Linked DNA regions of Homo sapiens: regions 1, 2, 4, 5 and 6 are each linked to region 3. Evidence: promoter capture Hi-C in 16 types of primary human blood cells and fetal thymus (Javierre and others, 2016). All regions are on one chromosome and are shown on one strand. Each heading gives the region's core, a stretch centred on a gene start or on the middle of the fragment in contact. The rest is flanking DNA. Distances are from core to core; before and after follow the strand shown. Region 1 overlaps FRYL (FRY like transcription coactivator). Region 2 overlaps FRYL (FRY like transcription coactivator). Region 3 holds the start of OCIAD2 (OCIA domain containing 2). Region 4 overlaps FRYL (FRY like transcription coactivator). Region 5 overlaps FRYL (FRY like transcription coactivator). Region 6 overlaps FRYL (FRY like transcription coactivator).

Region 1 (2,902 bases), core at 281-2,780, 350 kb after region 3:
TTGTAAACATGTGAATTTAAATATTTTTTTACTCAGGATTTAATGAAGCCCAATAATTTAGTCTTGCTATTAAAGCATACTGATAATAGTATTTAGCTTTATTTATAGTAAAGAAGTTATGGTATCAAGGCCTAATTATTATTAGAAGTATAAGACAAAGATAATATAGATATTTAAATTTATAAGTAATGCAGACTATTCCTAAGTGTATTGTAGAAGGATTATTTATGATAATGTGTGTGTATGTGTATGAAGGTACTTATAAATATGTGTCCATGTAAGTATTTCTGTTCAGCAGATGAGAACAATGTGTGTCCAAATTTTTTTGGAGAGCCATGTGAAAAATAATTAGCTCTTTTTATCATATTCTCATGTAAATTTTCTTTATTAGGTTGAGGAGAAATAACTTAGAAAGTTAACTTACCAAACACGGATATATTGTTAGTATGCAATACTTAACTAATTCATAATAGGGCAAGATTCTTCCATCTTAACCAAGGGCTAAGAATAGGATTCAAGTAGGTGCTTTTTCCAAAGGCTCTGAAGTGGTTCTGATGCCAGTAGATCCATCTTAGGAATTATACCCTAATGCCTTTGTTAATTAAGAGGAAAGTTCAGCAGTACAGCTCTTTAAATAGTGTAATGTCGAAAGGTCCTCCTTGAAGGGTTTTTTTTTTTCACTTATGCATATATTGTACTACCATATTTTTGTGCGAGAAAAGTGGTAAATCTTTTTCAAGTAATCGTATATTAAGTTGCTGGAGTTATTTTCAGACTGTGTTACTAACCTGGATCATTGGCATTAAATACGAGGAATGTAAATTCTTTTAGTGAGAAAGAGTTTTTGTTTGTTTTGTTTCATTTTGTTTTTGAGATAGGGTCTCACTCTGTCACCCAGGCTAGAGTACAGTGGCACAGTCATGGCTCACTGCTGCCTCTACCTCCTGAGCTCAAGTGACCCTCCACCCTCAGCCTCCTGAGTAGCTGGGACCACAGGCACACACCACCACATCTGGCTAATTTTTTAATTTTTTTGTAGAGATGAGGTCCTGCTATGTTGGCCAGGCTAGTCTGGAACTCCTGGCCTCAAGTGATCCTCCCACCTCTGCCTTCCAAAGTATTGAGATTACAGGCATAAGCCACTCCACTCAGCTGGGGAGAAGAGTTTTTTTAAAAATTATAAAATTATAGTTAAACTTTAGAGAACCCATAAAATCTTAACCTAAGTTGATGGAATCACATTCCTATAGATTCTGGAACCGAAGATGTTTCGCTATGCTCACAAATTGGAGGTTCAGAGAACAGATGGAGTACTCAGCCAGCTGTCTCCTCTACCACATCTCTATTCTGTTTCATATTATCAGTTGTCCGAGGAACTAGCAAGGGCGTATCCTGAGCTAACTCTCGCCATATTCTCAGGTATGATCAATGAACTGGTTAGTAGTTTCTATTTGTCAATCATTTCTTCAGAAACAATTTTTAGAAAATTATAAATTTATTAAATTACAGGTTAAATCAAAACCAGACATGTCTTTACATAGGAAATATTTTTTTCTTCAATAAGAACTCTTAATTCTGATCAGTCACAATATTTAGGTTTTTCTATCAACGGCGTCCTTATAGGGTTTTATACCTGACCTTCCCTTCGCTCCCTACTCCATCAAAAAGAAAAAAATACAAGAGGGACGACTTTTCACATGTGACTTAAAAGTATTTCTTAGTAGACATAGGACTTCTTGAATACATTGTATTTTGTGTATTGGCATATGTTTAATAATAAAAATAGGCAGGGATAAAGTTATAGGCAGTTTTCCGTGAGCGAAACCCCTAACCATAGGAGCAGGTGGTACAGTGCCTCGAGCAAAACTCTTTCTAGTCTCCCACATGTTGCTTGTCGCCTACATCAAGATCTTGTTCCAGTGTAAGTACTGGCCATGCTCCAACACTGGGATCTGGGAGATTGCAGAGTTCTGCTGTGGGTCCTTTATTTCATTTGGGCTCAAGAGATAGTGGACTTAGCTGGCTTGGGATCTTTGCACAGCACCTATTTTAGCAATAGAAATAGTTTATTTCCCATCCCTAATTGACCTGAGTGGGAGAAAAAAGCAATAACAACAACTTAAATTCTCATAACATTTAGTTCTTGAAAGCAGTTGACCTGTTTGGTTTGCCCTGGTAGTTGGTAGCAATGCCTCTTCCTTTTTCCCAACCCCCGCATCCGTGACAGCCCTTCCAAGATGAATATGAGTGATCATCAACACAAAATAGCGGCCGCCGTGAACACAGATTTTGTGGCTGCTGAGCTGCTGCTAGAGGCTTTTGCACAGAAAGTAGAGGAGTCCAGCTGGGTCTCAAGAGATCATGTAACTGTTTAGAATGTCATGTCATCGCCTAGGATGTGTGCTGGTACAGGTGTCCACCATGCCCACACCCCCACCACCTTGTCATTCTTCCTTCAGTTCTCTCTTCAGACACTCTTGTCCTTAGCATCAGCTAATTTTAACTCCTTTGCTTAAGATAGTTCATTCTAAACCAAAACAGCCTCTCAACCTGACAAATTCCATAGCTAACCTACATTTTCACTTTCACTGTTTCTAAGGCAAGACAAACACAATATTCATTCAGAATTTTACTGCACAGATACAGGTATCAGCATAAACTTTGCCACTTTAAAATTTGAGGGCCCTGATCCTTTCTTTCTCCAGATTCAATGCAATGGTCTCTAAATGTTGTCAGCTCTGAGGCCCTTCCCATTCTTGCTCCTCACATCCTTTCCCTCCTTCACACCTGCTCCTAACCCCTTCCTCACCCCTGTGCCTTGCCTCGAGTATATACACTCACTATTCCATATTCTCAGTCCTCCTGCATGCCTTAGATCTTCACAGATGGCCTTCACACTCCA
Region 2 (2,788 bases), core at 1-2,500, 330 kb after region 3:
TCTCAAAAAAAAAAAAAAAAAAATAGTGCTGAAGTGAATTTTTAGTGTTTACTTGGGTTTGGCTACTTTGCTTAAACATTCCTAATTTTTTTAGACATATGATGTCTTTTTTACAGGGTGATGATGAATTAGCCATAGATGTGATGGACAGGCTAAGCCCATCCATTCTTGAGAGCTTCATACATCTCACTGGGGCTGATCAGGTAACTATAGTGACTTCATTCTACCCAATCTTGTTTTGAGACTTATGACAGACACATATGTATACATGTACATGTGCATACATAAAATAACTTCCTTAACAAATGTAATGAGTTAGAAAGTATTTTTGAAAAGTAGAAAATGCTTAAGAGTAGTACTTAAAAAGTGACATTCATTTATACTTGGTTAAGTACTCTTCTACATAGAAATAAAAATTATTTTATGTTTGTAAAATTCTCATCCTTCCAATCTAAGAAGTTTCTGTTAAATGGAATCTTTATGCTACCGTTTGCTCTTTATTATGGCATATAATATTCGTGAGATAGAAATACTTGTGAAAATGCTACGGGAAAAAAATGGTGATACTCAAAGCAAAAACTTACACCCTGCTTTTTTGGCAACTGTTTTTTGTGTATCACATAAGTTTAAGTATAGTGGATTAAGTACATAGTGTTTTATACCAATGTCATATGTAATTTGACTCATTAAAATGGAGAGAAACACTTTGTCCACAAACATATTACTAACAAAGTTTATGCAAACTTTCTTGCTTGGTCTTGGTTGGGTAAAAGGTCATATATTAAGATTCCAAAGTTGATGTAAGAATAGCTATAAAACCTTACTATTTAAAAATATTTCCTCCTATTTTAGAATACATGGTCAAGAGGTTAATGCATAACATTAAGAGCTTGCGGCATAACACCTGATTCTTATAATTCATGAGTTATATGTAGCCAAGGGAGGTAATAAGGTTTTATAAGCCTAAGAGATTATTAGAAATCTGTACAATTCCCCCCCGCCATGATGCTACCATGATGCTAAACTTTTTAAAAAACTAATTTTTAATTTTTATTTATTTTTAAATAGATACAATTGTACATATTTATGCGGTGCAATTTGATGTTTCCATACATGTCTATATTGTATAATGACCCAATCAGGGTAGTTAGTGTATCCATCATCTCATGTGTTTATCATTTATTTGTGGTAAGAACCTTTAAAAGCCTCTCTTCTAGTTATTTTATGAAAGGATCTATACAATTCAAAACATTTTGTTTTAGATATTAACCATAAATTATGAATTATTCCAAAAAGAGAGTAATGGATGACTTGTTTCTTGTGCCTAAAGCAGTGCTTAATATACTTTTCTTTGAACATAAATGTTTATCTCTTCAGTATAAGAGTTCAAATATTGAACAAGTATTTAAGAATATATACCTCTGGAGAAGAGCTCATTTTTGAGTCTGTTCCACACATACATAGATACAGGTCAACATGAAAGTTAATGGTTCACTCTTTAGTTCTCTGGCAGCTTTTGGTATACGATGAAATTTGGATATTTATTTAAGAATTACTTAAATAGTGGTCCTGAACTTCTTTGGTTTATAGTCCTCTTGAGAATAATGAAAACAGTGGAATCCCTCTCCAAAAAAAAGACATGTATGCACATACAGAAACTTTACATGCAGTTTCAGGAATTCTCTACTCCCTTCAACCTACCATGGACTTTATATTATCTTGTTTTAGAAACTACTAATACACCACTTTCAGTTTAAAGCAATTTATATGGTAAAATTTCAAAGTTATTGAAATGTGTAATAATCAATTTTTTCCTCTCCATATAGACTACTTTGCTCTATTGCCCTAGCTCGATAGATTTACAAACTTTAGCAGAATGGAACTCTTCTCCTATTAGCCACCAGTTTGATGTGATTAGTCCATCACATATATGGATATTTGCACATGTGACCCAAGGCCAAGACCCATGGATTATAAGTCTCTCCAGTTTTTTAAAGCAAGAAAATCTTCCTAAACACTGCTCTACAGCTGTGAGCTATGCTTGGATGTTTGCATACACAAGACTTCAGTTGTTGTCCCCTCAGGTCGATATAAAGTAAGTTATTTTCCTAGTGTAAATTTAAAAATGTATAGACTGTCAGCTTTCATATGTATTTATTTGAAAAATTCAAAAGTATTACAGATTGGAAGGCCCATAAATAATATGTGATACTGCATTGATGTCTTAAGGAGGGAGAAGAATGTTGTCAAGGACATAGTCTCATAACTTCTTCATCCTTTTCATGTAATACAGTCTCACCAAATTTTAATTATTAATTTACTTAATAACACTGTACTTGGTACATAGTTGTGTCCATCGAATCTGTGTTAAGGGAAAAAATTGGGAAAGAATCTAAGGATGAGTATGGATGTAGACACAGAAGTTTGTAGATAAAGGGTGAGAAGCAGAGCGAAACTCAGCTCAGTGGCCTTACTTTTCCCGATGACAGTGTAAGGAAGGCCACCTTCTGGTGGGGAGTGGTAATAACACACTGAGTAGGAGATTTGAGGATGTTGGTAAAGATTTGGAATAACTGATGATGAAATGGAGAGTTGACCAAGGTCATTATAAATTTCAGTTAGTTTTTGTTTTGTTTTGTTTTTTTGCTCTTAAATACAGAGGAGAATTTTTGAATCTGGGTTTGGGTTCCTGATTTCTCCTTACAGAGTACACCACTGATCACATTGAATGGAATGAGTCCTCTCAGCATATAACTTGCCCATGTAAACCCAGCATCTGGATTGACCT
Region 3 (2,983 bases), core at 360-2,859:
AAGAGGGCCTTCAGTGGAGATCCACAGCCTCTCTCCAAGTCAACACACTCAGTCAGTCCTGGCAGCTCAGCCCAGAAAACTTTGTCAGCCATGGCTGGGGTAACTGTGTCCAGAGGTGTTTGAACAAGAGCCACTCCATCTTGAATAGGGACTGAGTAAAATAAGGCTGAAACCTACTGGGCTGCCTTCCCAGGTGGTTCAGCATTCTTAGTCACAGGATGAGATAGAAGGTTGGCACAAGGTACAGGTCACAAAGACTTTGCTGATGAAACAGGACTCAGTAAAGAAGCCAGCCAAGACCCACCAAAATCAAGATGGTCATGAAAGTGACCTCTGGTCGTCCTCATTACTCATTAAATGCTAATTTTAATGCATTAGCCTGATAAAAGACCCTCCCACCAGGGCCATGACAGTTTACAAGTGCCATGGCAACGTCAGAAAGTTACCCTATATGGTCTAAAAAGTGAAGGAACCCTCAGTTCCGGGAATTGCCCACCCTTTTCCTGGAAAATTCATGAATAATCCACCCCTTGTTTAGCATAGAATCAAGAAATAACTACCAGTATAATTAGCTAAGCAGCCCACACAGCTGCTCTGCCAGTGGAGTAGCCATTCTTTTTTGTTGTTGTTCTTCTTGTTTTTTGTTTTTTTTTTGTTTTTTTTTTTTTTGAGACAGAGTCTGGCTCTGTCGCCCAAGCTGGAGTGCAGTGGCGCAATCTCGGCTCACTGCAACCTCTGCCTCCGGAGTTCAAGCGATTCTCCTGCCTCAGCCTCCCGAGTAGCTGGGATTACAGGCATAGAGCACCATGCCTGGCTAACTTTTCGTATTTTTAGTAGAGAGAGTGTTTCACCATGTTGGCCAGGCTGGTCTGAACTCCTGAGCTCAAGTGATCTGCCTGCCTTTGCCTCCCAAAGTGTTGGGATTATGGGCGTGAGCCACCGCACCCGGCCTGTTTTCTATACTTCCTTAATAAACTTGCTCTCACTCTACGGACTCACCCCGAATTCTTTCTTGCGAGAAGTCCAAGAACCCTCGCTTGGGGTCTGGATCGGGACCCCTCTCCGGTAACAAGTGATATCGGTATTAAAGGTACCCCCACATGTCAAAGGCTTCCCTCCACAAGTCAGAGTTGGGGAGGGACAGGAGGCAGCAGGGGACCGACAAAGAGCAATGGAAAGAGAAGGCCTGGGAGCCAAGCAGGCCTGGGGTTGACTCCAGGCTCCCTTAGTGGCCTGCACAACTCAGATGACCCGTCTGTGAAGTGCAGGTCACAGTGGGCACCACACACGGCTGCAGAAAGGAGTGCAAAGGTGATGCCCACGCCTGGCCTAGGGCGGGGGCGCAATACATGGCTGTTGCGGCTGTGATTGCTGGAGGAAGGGAGTCATTTGGAAGGCACAAAGGAACTAGAACCTACTCGGTGTCGGGACAAGCCTCAAGGATGGGGCAGGGGTTCCGGCAAGAGCTGGGTTCCAGCCTGGGTTGCCACCAACAGCGAAAGTGACTGCCAGGTGGCAGTAGGGTGACTTCACCAGCTTAAGTGCTTAGCGGGCAGGCGAGGGGGCGGAGCAAGAGAAGAAAACACAAAGGGCCGGAAGGAAGCCGGGGAGACAGGTGGGGTACTCGGGAAGCTGGAGCGGGCCGGCGGTGCAGTCACGGGGGAGCGAGGCCTGCTGGGCTTGGCAACGAGGGACTCGGCCTCGGAGGCGACCCAGACCACACAGGTGAGCCCCCGCCCCGGGGAGTGTTGACGGCGGGAGGGGGTGGCCTCGGGGGAACGCGGCGCCGCAGGGCAGTCCTTCGAAGGCCGCGCGGTGCAGCGGTGGCCGCCCCCCACTCTCCCCTAACTCGGACCCCGGCGGCCCCGGCACGGGCGAGGGGCTGGGGAGCTTGGGGTGGCGCTGGCTGCTTCTGGCCAGGGATGGCAGCGGACTCCAGTAGGCTGACTCCCGGCTTCCCCGACCGCATCAGAAAGTGCAGTGTCCCCCGTCCGCCGTCCAGCCCTGCAGGCGCCCCCCTCCAAGCCATCCTAAGAAGCACCCCCGCCCCCCATGCTGGGGCGCGCCCTCCTCCGCACATTCGTCGGTCAGCACCCACGAACCCACGGGTCCCTTCCCCACCACTGAGGAAACAGAGGGTCCCCGGACCACCCCAGCGTGGGGGGTGGGAGCTACACCTGCAAGGCAAGACCCTCGGAAGGCTTGCTTTTAGGTGCAGACTGAGGACTAAGTGGGTGCCAGGGGACCTGGCCACCGAAGCTGAGAGGTATATTTGCCTCCCAATATAGGGCAGCGGCCTAATGGCTAAGCAAAGATAATCTAATTTGGCGTGGTCAGCAAAGACTTCCTGGGAGTGCTCAGGAAATGGAAGGTGTGCAGGGGCTTTATGGACGTATCCCTCATCCTCATCCTCATCCTAGTCTTCATTCCTGCAAGAGCCCCTCACCATTGTTGTGTCCATTATGCCCAATTAACAGTGGAGAAAGCTGAGGCAGAGACGGATTAAGTCATTTGCACCAAAGGGATCGCAGGGGTAAAGAGTCACGATTTGAACTCTGGTCTCTCTGACCCCAGTACTTTCCCGTGCAGGGCACCGTGCTGCCCCTGTAATCACATTAGACACCTGTGATGAAACTTGGTGCGAGTACGGGTCCCCTTGGCTCAAATGCCTCAAAGTTTAGTAACTGATGTAGGAAACAGAATTGTATATAAGAGGTTCATTTTGCAGAAGAAAAGCAGAGGTAGAGGTAGAGTTCAGGGCTGCAGAATGCAGTGGCCACTGGGGGCAGGAGGAGGCTCAAAGTCCACCTGGATTATGTCCATCATTGCCAAATCCAGGGTCCACTTTTCTAAGCCATGTGATGGTGTTGATGATTCACTCCCTCCTTCAGAAATTCCCTCCCCTCTGTATCAGCTATTCCTTCTCAGTCATTTCCTTGGCCTGCTTTTTTTTTTTTAATCTTTCTTCTCTTTTCGATATTCC
Region 4 (2,712 bases), core at 124-2,623, 400 kb after region 3:
CATTGTCCTTGCAGGATTGGTCTTTCTTTCTTTTATACAGGCTACTCCATCACACCCAGAAGTAGAACCTCGACAGTTAAAAATTTTAACCTTCATTTGAACCTTGAATAAAGAAAATGCCGTGACAGGAAGACTGATTGATTAGATGTGAACTGGAGGGTGTTCTGAGCACAAACTACCATGTCTTGTATGCTCTGGCTGGAAAGGTGTGGACCTGTATCTCTCAGGCCAGTGTGCAGCCACAGGACTATATGGTTGGGGTTTGTCTTTTAACAGAATAAAAATCAGCAATATTTTGAATAGTGCCCCCCAAAAGGCTGTATCATTAGGTACACAGTATAAAAATAAGCCATTAAATAAATAATCAACTGAAATTATTTTCAAATTTATTAGTATACTTGGACAAACTGGACAAGATAAGGCATAATTAAGTGTATAAATATTTTAACATTTTGTATGAATAAAGATTAATGCACAGGTTCCATGTTAGATGTCAACTGCATTTTGCTGATACAAAGAAATCCACTGATAGCTTTTGACAATGGCTGCCATCAGCTGTATCTCACTAGAAAAGCTTAACATGTTTTTCTTCAGAGATGCTGTCAAGCAAATAGCCTAAGGGCCGGTGAAATCTGAGAGACTGGAATAAAAGGAAAATAAGGTCAAAGAGATCATTTTTGAAATAACTGAAATGTCAAATTTCAATTCTTTCTTTGTGGGTACAACATAAGCTACAATAGAGAATGTTAAATGTCGAATACTAAAATACTTTCAGAGTAGCTGCTTAATGCAGCTAGTCTGTTTCTCAAAGTCCTAATGATTTCATATATATATATATATATATATATATATATATATATATATATATATATATATATTAGTTGTATTGTTTAATAGTATAATTTAAAAAAAAGAACTTAGAAGTCAAAACAACTGATAATATCAAACTGTCCAAAGCTAGGAGCTTACCTGGAATGCACTTAGCTTTTACTTCAGCTTGGAAATTCTGTGAGTCCAGCGTTCTTTCTTTTCTACTATACCACGGTGCTATTGTTTTATTTATATTTTGCTGAAGAAAATGTACTTTATTTTTGAAGTATTCCTTTTTTTTTATTTTATGTTTTTAGAGACAGGGTCTCCCTATGTTGCCCAGGATGGTCTTGAACTCCTGCCCTCTAGCAGTCCTCCCCGCTCAGCCTCCCAAAGCTCTGGGATTACAGGCAGGAGCCACCACACCCAGCCTGTACTTTTATATCAACATTAGGAATACCCCCAGAGAAGGAAAAACCACATTTGGCTTCTACATCCAGTATTGTTTGGAAATAAATAACATGTTTGTTTGTCATTCATTACTGTCCAAAAAGAAAGAAAAGAAAAACAAAACAAGACTTAAAATGGATCTTGATTGCCGGTTCACAAATTTAAAACTGACACTAGTCTTCTGAGAATTACACTTCTCATAAGCAAACAGACCTACTTAATTCTAAGTTGTCTTTATTAAATTGATCAGAGGGGAAGCACATCTTTCCTTTCCCCGTCTTACGTTACACAAAGGTCAGGCATAGGTTGTAAAGATTTTCATAAAACCTGCAAAATGAAGAATATCCTTTACTGAAATGGAACATCACAGGTCCCTAGAATGGAATGGGTTTTGTTAGTATAGCTGTCACAAGTGTGTGCCTCTTGTTACATTAATGCTATCCCTGCTTTTGTTAGTTCCATATAAATGATTGATTTGGCTTGAATGGAGATAAAAGTCTAGGTCTACAACCAATCCTAGAACTTCAAGTTAACTTTAAGTTTGGTGTTGTATATGGACAGGCTGTTACACTACCCATTTTACTGTGCATATTAAACGTTACTGTTACTTATTTTTAGTGGCTAGATGATTGTAAGAGGACATTTGGTGCCAAAGAAGACATGTATAGGATAAACACAGATGCACAAGTAAGTTTCTTGTTCCTGTTTTTGCAACATACATTTTCTGTATCAGGTAAAACAATGCATGTGTTCAAATATCCTTATTTGATTATTTCTAAAAATAAAGAATATTTGTAAAACTTTTCATTTTGGTTATCAAAACAATCTTTGTAAAAGCTCAATGAAATACTGGTTTCATAATGAAAAATTCACTTTAATAAAAATGAACGACCAGCTTGTGACTGAAGCTTAATAACATCCAATAGATAAGCTTGATGGATATCTGGACAGTCCAGGTCGGCTTTTAAGTTGCATGTGCCTCTTAAAGAAAAATTTGTCCCATGTTAGTATTCTGCTATTCTGTTAGATAAATTGGTCAAGAAAGCAAACCTAAGAATAATGTGATATAATATATCCATGTTAAAGGTAAAATTAGAATTGGATAAATTATAATGTTTTTCTTTAATATAAGGCTCAGTGAAAACAACAGCATTATATTTTCTTAGAAAGGTGCACATACATAAACACATACATTGTAGTAAGTGAGGATAAGTTAGGGCCTACAAATTATTCCAATGGAAGTGTAGCTTCACAGGGGAAAATACATTCATCAACTGAAATTTATTTCCATTTGACATCAGAATTCCAGTCTTTTATATTCTACCTTTGGTTATATTATTACAGATTTCTAGTGTCTGTAAAGGTTATACTATTATTAGGTTATACTATTTATTATAGTAAAAAATTGAAGTTCTGCAAAAACTGCAGTGTTGAGAAAATAATAGTATACTC
Region 5 (2,818 bases), core at 237-2,736, 300 kb after region 3:
TTCACTCAGGGCTGGGACTAGGTTTATCTTATGTACTTAACATTTGGTCACTTGGCACATTGTAGTACTTCAGTGAGAGTCTCAGTGAATTATTAACCAATTTCAAACCTTACAGAAAGTTCTTGTATTCTTTGTATAGTTTAATCTAACATCTGTATCATTTTCTTTGTTTGCATTATCTTTTTACTAGGCTGTTAAAAATGAAGTGAATGTTCCCTGTTTGAAAAATTTTGTGGAGATGCTTTATCAGACTACTTTTGAACTGAGCTCGAGAAAGAAGCATTCATTGGTATTAAGAAACATTTCAAACCTTTTCATATTTAATTGGGATTTTTAGTAATTGATTTATGAATTCAGTGGAAATTTAAGAGAATGGTAAAATCTGAAATTGTAAAATCCCTGAAGTGCAATACAAGGGCAAGTTTTACATACGTATGTTTTGCGTGGCTCTATTTAAATGTTCTGTTCTTAATTTTACTAGCTCTGCATTTGTTGAGTTGTTCAGACTTCCTTCTAGGTAGTCATGCATTGCTTAATGATGGAAATATGTTCTAAGAAATGTGTCGTTAGGCTATTTCATTGTGCAAACATCATTGAATGTACTTACACAAACCTAAATAGTATAGCCTACTACACACCTAGGCTATATGGTATAGCTTATTGCTCCCAGACTACAAACCTGTACAGCATGTTACTGTACTGTGGGCAGTTGTAACAGAATAATATTTGTGTATCTAAACACGAGAAGGTACAGTAAAAATATGTTGTAACCTCAGGGGATCACTGTCATAAAGTGATTTTAGCAGCTGTTTTCTGTCTAATTACGTCTTTTCTAGTCAGAGATTGAAGGCATTTTTTTCTACCTGTCTATTTCACATAACTTTTACGTAGCTTGGAGAAAGTTTGGAGAATTGGTGAAATATTTGACCTTCTAAACTAGAGATACAGTAATTCTAAACATGGATTGTGCCAGGCATTGAACTAAGTACTTTGTACTTTTTTTTTTCTTACTTTAAGCTTCACAACCCTATAAGATATTTGTGATTATTGTCCTCTACTTTATGTGTTTGGAAAGTGAGGCTTAGAGTACCTAATGTAGCCATCGTGAAGTTACACATTTGACAAACAGAAAGCTAACATTTTAATGCCATCTGTCATCTGATCCCAGGGACTAGTCATAACCACAAAATGGATGAGAGGCTAATGGGTTGAGGGAGAACTAATAGCATATTCTAACTCAGAGAGGTATGATCAGTCAAGGAATTTTCCTCGTAGAAAATTTACTCTTTATCTTTCTGTGTTAGATTATTCTATGAGATTATATTTCTTATTACGAATTGGAAAACTGCTTAAAAGATTTGTTTCCTTGCTTATGAGAATAAATGAAATATAAAATTTAAAAGTCCAGTGCTTTTCGATGAAAAATGTTAATTCTGTCTTTTCCCCGTCTCCTATAGGCTTTATATCCACTAATTACCTGCCTTTTATGTGTCAGTCAGAAACAATTTTTTTTAAATAACTGGCATATTTTCCTACAGAACTGTTTGTCACATTTAAAGGTAAGATGTAATCACACTTCTGATATGTAAATACTGACTGGTATATTTTGTTTATGCATATAAATTGAACAGTGCATAATGAAACTTTTGTTACTATTGGTATACTTGAATAGCAACACTTTGCCACATTCCTTTTCTTATACCTACTGTATTTCTTCTATAGGGAATCATGTATAGATATGAGTAAACTTTTGATTGAAAATTTAGTTTGTCCTAATGAATGCAAGATTATTGTACATTTTTAGTGATATTTATATTATCTTAAATCTAGGAATATTTGTTAATTCTTTTAGAATTATAGAGTATTAATCTCACAAAACCTTCTAGATACTTATTTTGTCTTTTGAGAAAATCAGTAATGTTGGTTTAAGTCTGAACAATATGAGAAAAAGCTTTGATAATATCACTAAAATCACATTTAAGTATGCCCGGCCATATCTAAAAGTTGGTACTGGATCTGCACAGATGTAAAAGCTCCTGAAATGATTCTGACTTGAATGAAAGGGTACTTGTCATTAACACTATTTGGCACATCCATATTCAGCCTCTCTTAGTCCTGAAAACAAAACTGTGAGAGATAGAAGGATCATTTTCTTCCCAGGATGCTCTGCTAGCAGGATCCTCTTTTCTTCTTTGGGTAGGAACACAATTCTGACAGTGTGGGAATATTCTTCAGCTGCATGTCATGCGAATGCTTGATTTGAATATTCTTTTGATATATACTTAGATGAGCCTATTTGAATATTTGCTTGCAAGTTATAGAAATATTGCAGACATGACATTCCATTTCCTGGTATTCCTCTAAGTTAGACTTGAGACTGAAAACCTTATACTTTGAAGATAATGGAACCGAGGCAGATAGAGAAAGTGACTTGTCTCTGGGTATGCAGCTCGTTGTGCTATTGTAGGAATAGGACTGGATCTTCTTTCATATTTCAGGAATGATCCACTGGATGTTATCCTGTACGTCTTTTTCATGATTTTATGTATAATTTTCAAAACTGCCTCAGTTTCTTAGGTATACGGAATATATACTACTTTGAGAAATGTTTTTGTCTATTTTCCTTCTAGATAAACGTTGATATTACTCATGTTTGGATGAGAATTTATATGCCTTATTTGACTATTTATGAAAATTCCCAGGACCAAATCAAACTGATTGAACTCTTTATGTCATGCAACCAGGAAATAAATTTTATTTAATTAATTACATTATACTTATTTCTGTTCTTATTTTTGGTAATTTGTACAGATATAGG
Region 6 (2,985 bases), core at 201-2,700, 290 kb after region 3:
GGGAGAAGGATAGTTCACACATAAACTGTAAATCAAGAGAAGGTACCAGTTAAACTAGATGTAGCCCTACAGTACTCATACTGGGTATCATGCAAAAATTAGTAATACAAAAACCTATTTAGGAGTGCCATTTCAGCAGTTCAGTGAGGAGCTTTTAATAGTCATAAAGTTAAGAAAATATTCAAAGAAGTTCCTGTTCATATGGTTTATGAAGGGAGGCAATTATTGTAATACAGGAAGACTGCCAAAACCCTGTGTTATAATAGTACTATGATACTGTTCTTGGAGCTCAATTCCTAGAACTTGTTTTCTTCTCCTTCAAATTTCCCAGGATGATCTTGTCATGCATGTAAGAGCCACGTGTGTTCAGGTGATTGTCCATGGTTTAGTGTTGGACTTCAGTAGATGCCACTTGTGATTTTTCAACTTAAATTTGTGAGAAGGATACCTTGTACTGTATTTTCATGTTGAAAAGTTAATACTTTTGTTTCAGTTCTTAACAAAATACTAGTAATCAAATATGGAACAATGCTACATTTTCTAAATGAAATTTAAAATACTTTTCTTCTTCTTACTAATTCTTTTAGGTTAAGTTTAAATGCTAACAGATATAATAGTGAACTCTGAATAAACACCCCGTATATAAAAAGGGAAAGAACATAAAAACATGTTTTTGCATATGTTGGATTATTAAAAAGCTTCAGACCAGGCACTGTGACTTATGCTTGTAATCTGCTTTAGGAGGCTCAGGCAGGAGGATCACTTGAACCCAGGAATTTGAGACCAGTCTGGGCAATATAGGGAGATCCCTTCTCTAGAAAAAATAAAATTAGCTGGGCATGGTGGCGCTTGCCTGTAGTCTAGCTACTTGGGGTGGGAGGATCACATGAACCCAGGAGGTTGAAGCTGCGGTGGGCCATGTTTGCAGCATTGCACTCCAGCCTGGGTGACAGAACGAGACCCTGTCTCAAACCAAAAAGACAAAAATAAAAAACAAAAAGCTTCATATTAACAATTGCTGTAGCACATTTTACATAGTAGGAAAACAGTAAGCGACATGAGCTACTAACTAACAGGTATTTTTAAAGTCATAATCTTAATGCAGTACTAATTTTGGATTCTTGTTTCAGGGATGAACAGCAACGTGAAAGAGATTATCTTCTTGAAAGGAGGGACTTAGCAGTAGACTTCATTTTTTGTTTAGTTTTAGTTGAAGTTCTAAAGCAGGTAAGCTCTTTTATTTCTGCAAAGTCTGTATTCCTTATTCTTTGCTTACTGTGCCTTCGTGTTTCAGTTACTTTAAGATGCTGTGTCTAGAATTTTAGCCCACATAAATTAAATTCCTGTAATTTCATTATACTTCTTTCAGTTGCCTGGGGCTTTCCTGCCCTGTACCTATCTGTTATCTCCTCTATTTTTTACCTTTGTATGCTTATCCAAGATATAAAATCTTGTTAGCAAAATGGAGCTGAATGGAAATTGTGTTAATATTGACCTTTAGCTGTAAATGTAGTTTGCCTGCCATTCAGCTACTTCAGTCCCTTATTCCACTTTATTTCTCCTCTAAGCCCCCAAGCCTGCATTCCAACATGTAATAATTGTGCACTTTTAGTAGAGGCATGGGGTGATTTGATAAGGGTACTGAATTGTCATGTGCAAATGTTTTTCAGTCAAGTGAGAATACTTCAGATAATAAGTTAGGAATGTTTATTCATTCAATGAGTATTAGAATGCCTACTGTGTGCTGGCACTGTTTTAGGCAATAAACTCATGAGCTTGCACTTGAATGGGATAGATACACAGTAAAGATATGAATATATAATATAGTGTCAGGTATAGTCTTAATATTTTTATTACTCCAGATCAGTATAAATGCCTGTGCTGAATTTGAAAGCTTTTTTTTTTTTTTTTTTTAAAGATCATGGTCTTTAAAGTTATATCATTCAAGGATGATCCATGTATTTCCAGGCACGAACATTGTATTCTTTTGAAACAAGTTAGGAAGCCTAAAGGTCAGAGTCATATTTTGGATATGACACATTTGGACAGGGAGTTTTGTTTTTGTTACATAGAAAGGAATATGTGACAAACAGCAAATACAAGATATAAAATTAATTGACAGTCTGTTTTTCTCATAGTATAAAAGTACTTGAATTATATAATCAGTTTTATTTAGCTTTTATTTTTACAAGGAATATGAAAAGACAGTTCTTTGGTACTCTGAAATCTGCAAATAAACATAATTTTAAATATGTAAAACAGAAGAGTTAATTAAAGGTTAAATCACTTTAATATATGCATTTCATAAACGTTTTTTGGTAGAGGTAGGAAAGAAATCTCCTCTGGGAGTTGTGCTAACAAGCCAAATTTGACTTCTGTGATCTCTTGGTTTAACTGAGATACTAAGACCTTAAGGCAGCAGTCACTAGGATAGGAAGAGCTAAGGACTGGATATGGCCACAGCCCAGCAATGGACTCTGACTACTGCTCATTGTGATTTATCCCTGGTGTATCTTGTGTGCTAAATGTATTTCATTTAAGTGGATTGGTAACCAGTATTTGTACTTTTTTGCTTAAACAGTATAGGGTTTCTTCCTCCAGCCAGAGAAATGGCAGACTCCCTACATTAGCATTCAGGAACCCCAGTGACCTGGCCCCATTGTGCCTTCCTCCTTCGTTCATTTCCCATGGCATCCTTTTCTTAGATGTCAGTCTCGCTCCTCATCCTAAAGTTGCCCAATTGCACTGGCTTCAGAACTACAATTCACAGGCAACCCTGTGGAGGCATTTTTCCCATCTCTTCCCCCTCATCCTCCCTGTCCTCTTCCCCTCCTTGTTGCCTTTGTAGCCCTCCTCCTCCTCTTTTAACACAGTCCAGATAGGTCTTCATGTAGGGGAAAAAAAAGAAAAAAAAAGACCTATAAACATAACACTTTTTTTAGTAGTGGGGACCCCATCTCTACAAAATATAAAAAAATTAAAAAA

Evidence for each region. Contacts are between HindIII fragments. The CHiCAGO score rates a contact against its expected background, and 5 or more counts as called.
Region 1: a contact is called between a fragment that was not itself captured here and the fragment with the promoter of OCIAD2 in region 3, in 4 of 17 cell types (total B cells, total CD8 T cells, total CD4 T cells and 1 more). The highest score is 6.0, in total B cells.
Region 2: a contact is called between a fragment that was not itself captured here and the fragment with the promoter of OCIAD2 in region 3, in 10 of 17 cell types (non-activated CD4 T cells, naive CD4 T cells, naive CD8 T cells and 7 more). The highest score is 11.9, in non-activated CD4 T cells.
Region 4: a fragment that was not itself captured here is called in contact with the fragment with the promoter of OCIAD2 in region 3 in 1 of 17 cell types (activated CD4 T cells); the score reaches 5.4 in activated CD4 T cells.
Region 5: a fragment that was not itself captured here is called in contact with the fragment with the promoter of OCIAD2 in region 3 in 4 of 17 cell types (total CD8 T cells, naive CD4 T cells, total B cells and 1 more); the score reaches 6.1 in total CD8 T cells.
Region 6: a fragment that was not itself captured here is called in contact with the fragment with the promoter of OCIAD2 in region 3 in 6 of 17 cell types (naive CD4 T cells, total CD8 T cells, total CD4 T cells and 3 more); the score reaches 6.3 in naive CD4 T cells.

The regions. Positions count from the first base shown.
Region 1 is chr4:48,559,985-48,562,886 of GRCh38, reverse strand. It overlaps FRYL (FRY like transcription coactivator), which reads left to right. Exons shown (of 64, transcript NM_015030.2): 33 at 1,251-1,419. Among named protein-coding and RNA genes, the nearest start is that of ZAR1, 71 kb to the right of the region's middle. The HindIII fragment of the contact is 6,143 bases long and covers 1-2,902 here.
Region 2 is chr4:48,578,280-48,581,067 of GRCh38, reverse strand. FRYL (FRY like transcription coactivator) reads left to right here. Exons shown (of 64, transcript NM_015030.2): 22 at 117-203; 23 at 1,827-2,095. Among named protein-coding and RNA genes, the nearest start is that of ZAR1, 89 kb to the right of the region's middle. The HindIII fragment of the contact is 9,807 bases long and covers 1-2,788 here.
Region 3 is chr4:48,905,400-48,908,382 of GRCh38, reverse strand. It overlaps OCIAD2 (OCIA domain containing 2), which reads left to right and starts at 1,609. Exons shown (of 7, transcript NM_001014446.3): 1 at 1,609-1,725. RefSeq lists an enhancer at 1,302-1,381 and a silencer at 1,672-1,931. The HindIII fragment of the contact is 6,070 bases long and covers 1-2,983 here.
Region 4 is chr4:48,504,782-48,507,493 of GRCh38, reverse strand. It overlaps FRYL (FRY like transcription coactivator), which reads left to right. Exons shown (of 64, transcript NM_015030.2): 60 at 1,879-1,947. Among named protein-coding and RNA genes, the nearest start is that of ZAR1, 16 kb to the right of the region's middle. The HindIII fragment of the contact is 1,594 bases long and covers 577-2,170 here.
Region 5 is chr4:48,600,761-48,603,578 of GRCh38, reverse strand. It overlaps FRYL (FRY like transcription coactivator), which reads left to right. Exons shown (of 64, transcript NM_015030.2): 12 at 191-289; 13 at 1,458-1,559. Among named protein-coding and RNA genes, the nearest start is that of ZAR1, 110 kb to the right of the region's middle. The HindIII fragment of the contact is 934 bases long and covers 1,020-1,953 here.
Region 6 is chr4:48,617,516-48,620,500 of GRCh38, reverse strand. It overlaps FRYL (FRY like transcription coactivator), which reads left to right. Exons shown (of 64, transcript NM_015030.2): 7 at 1,131-1,227. Among named protein-coding and RNA genes, the nearest start is that of ZAR1, 130 kb to the right of the region's middle. The HindIII fragment of the contact is 893 bases long and covers 1,004-1,896 here.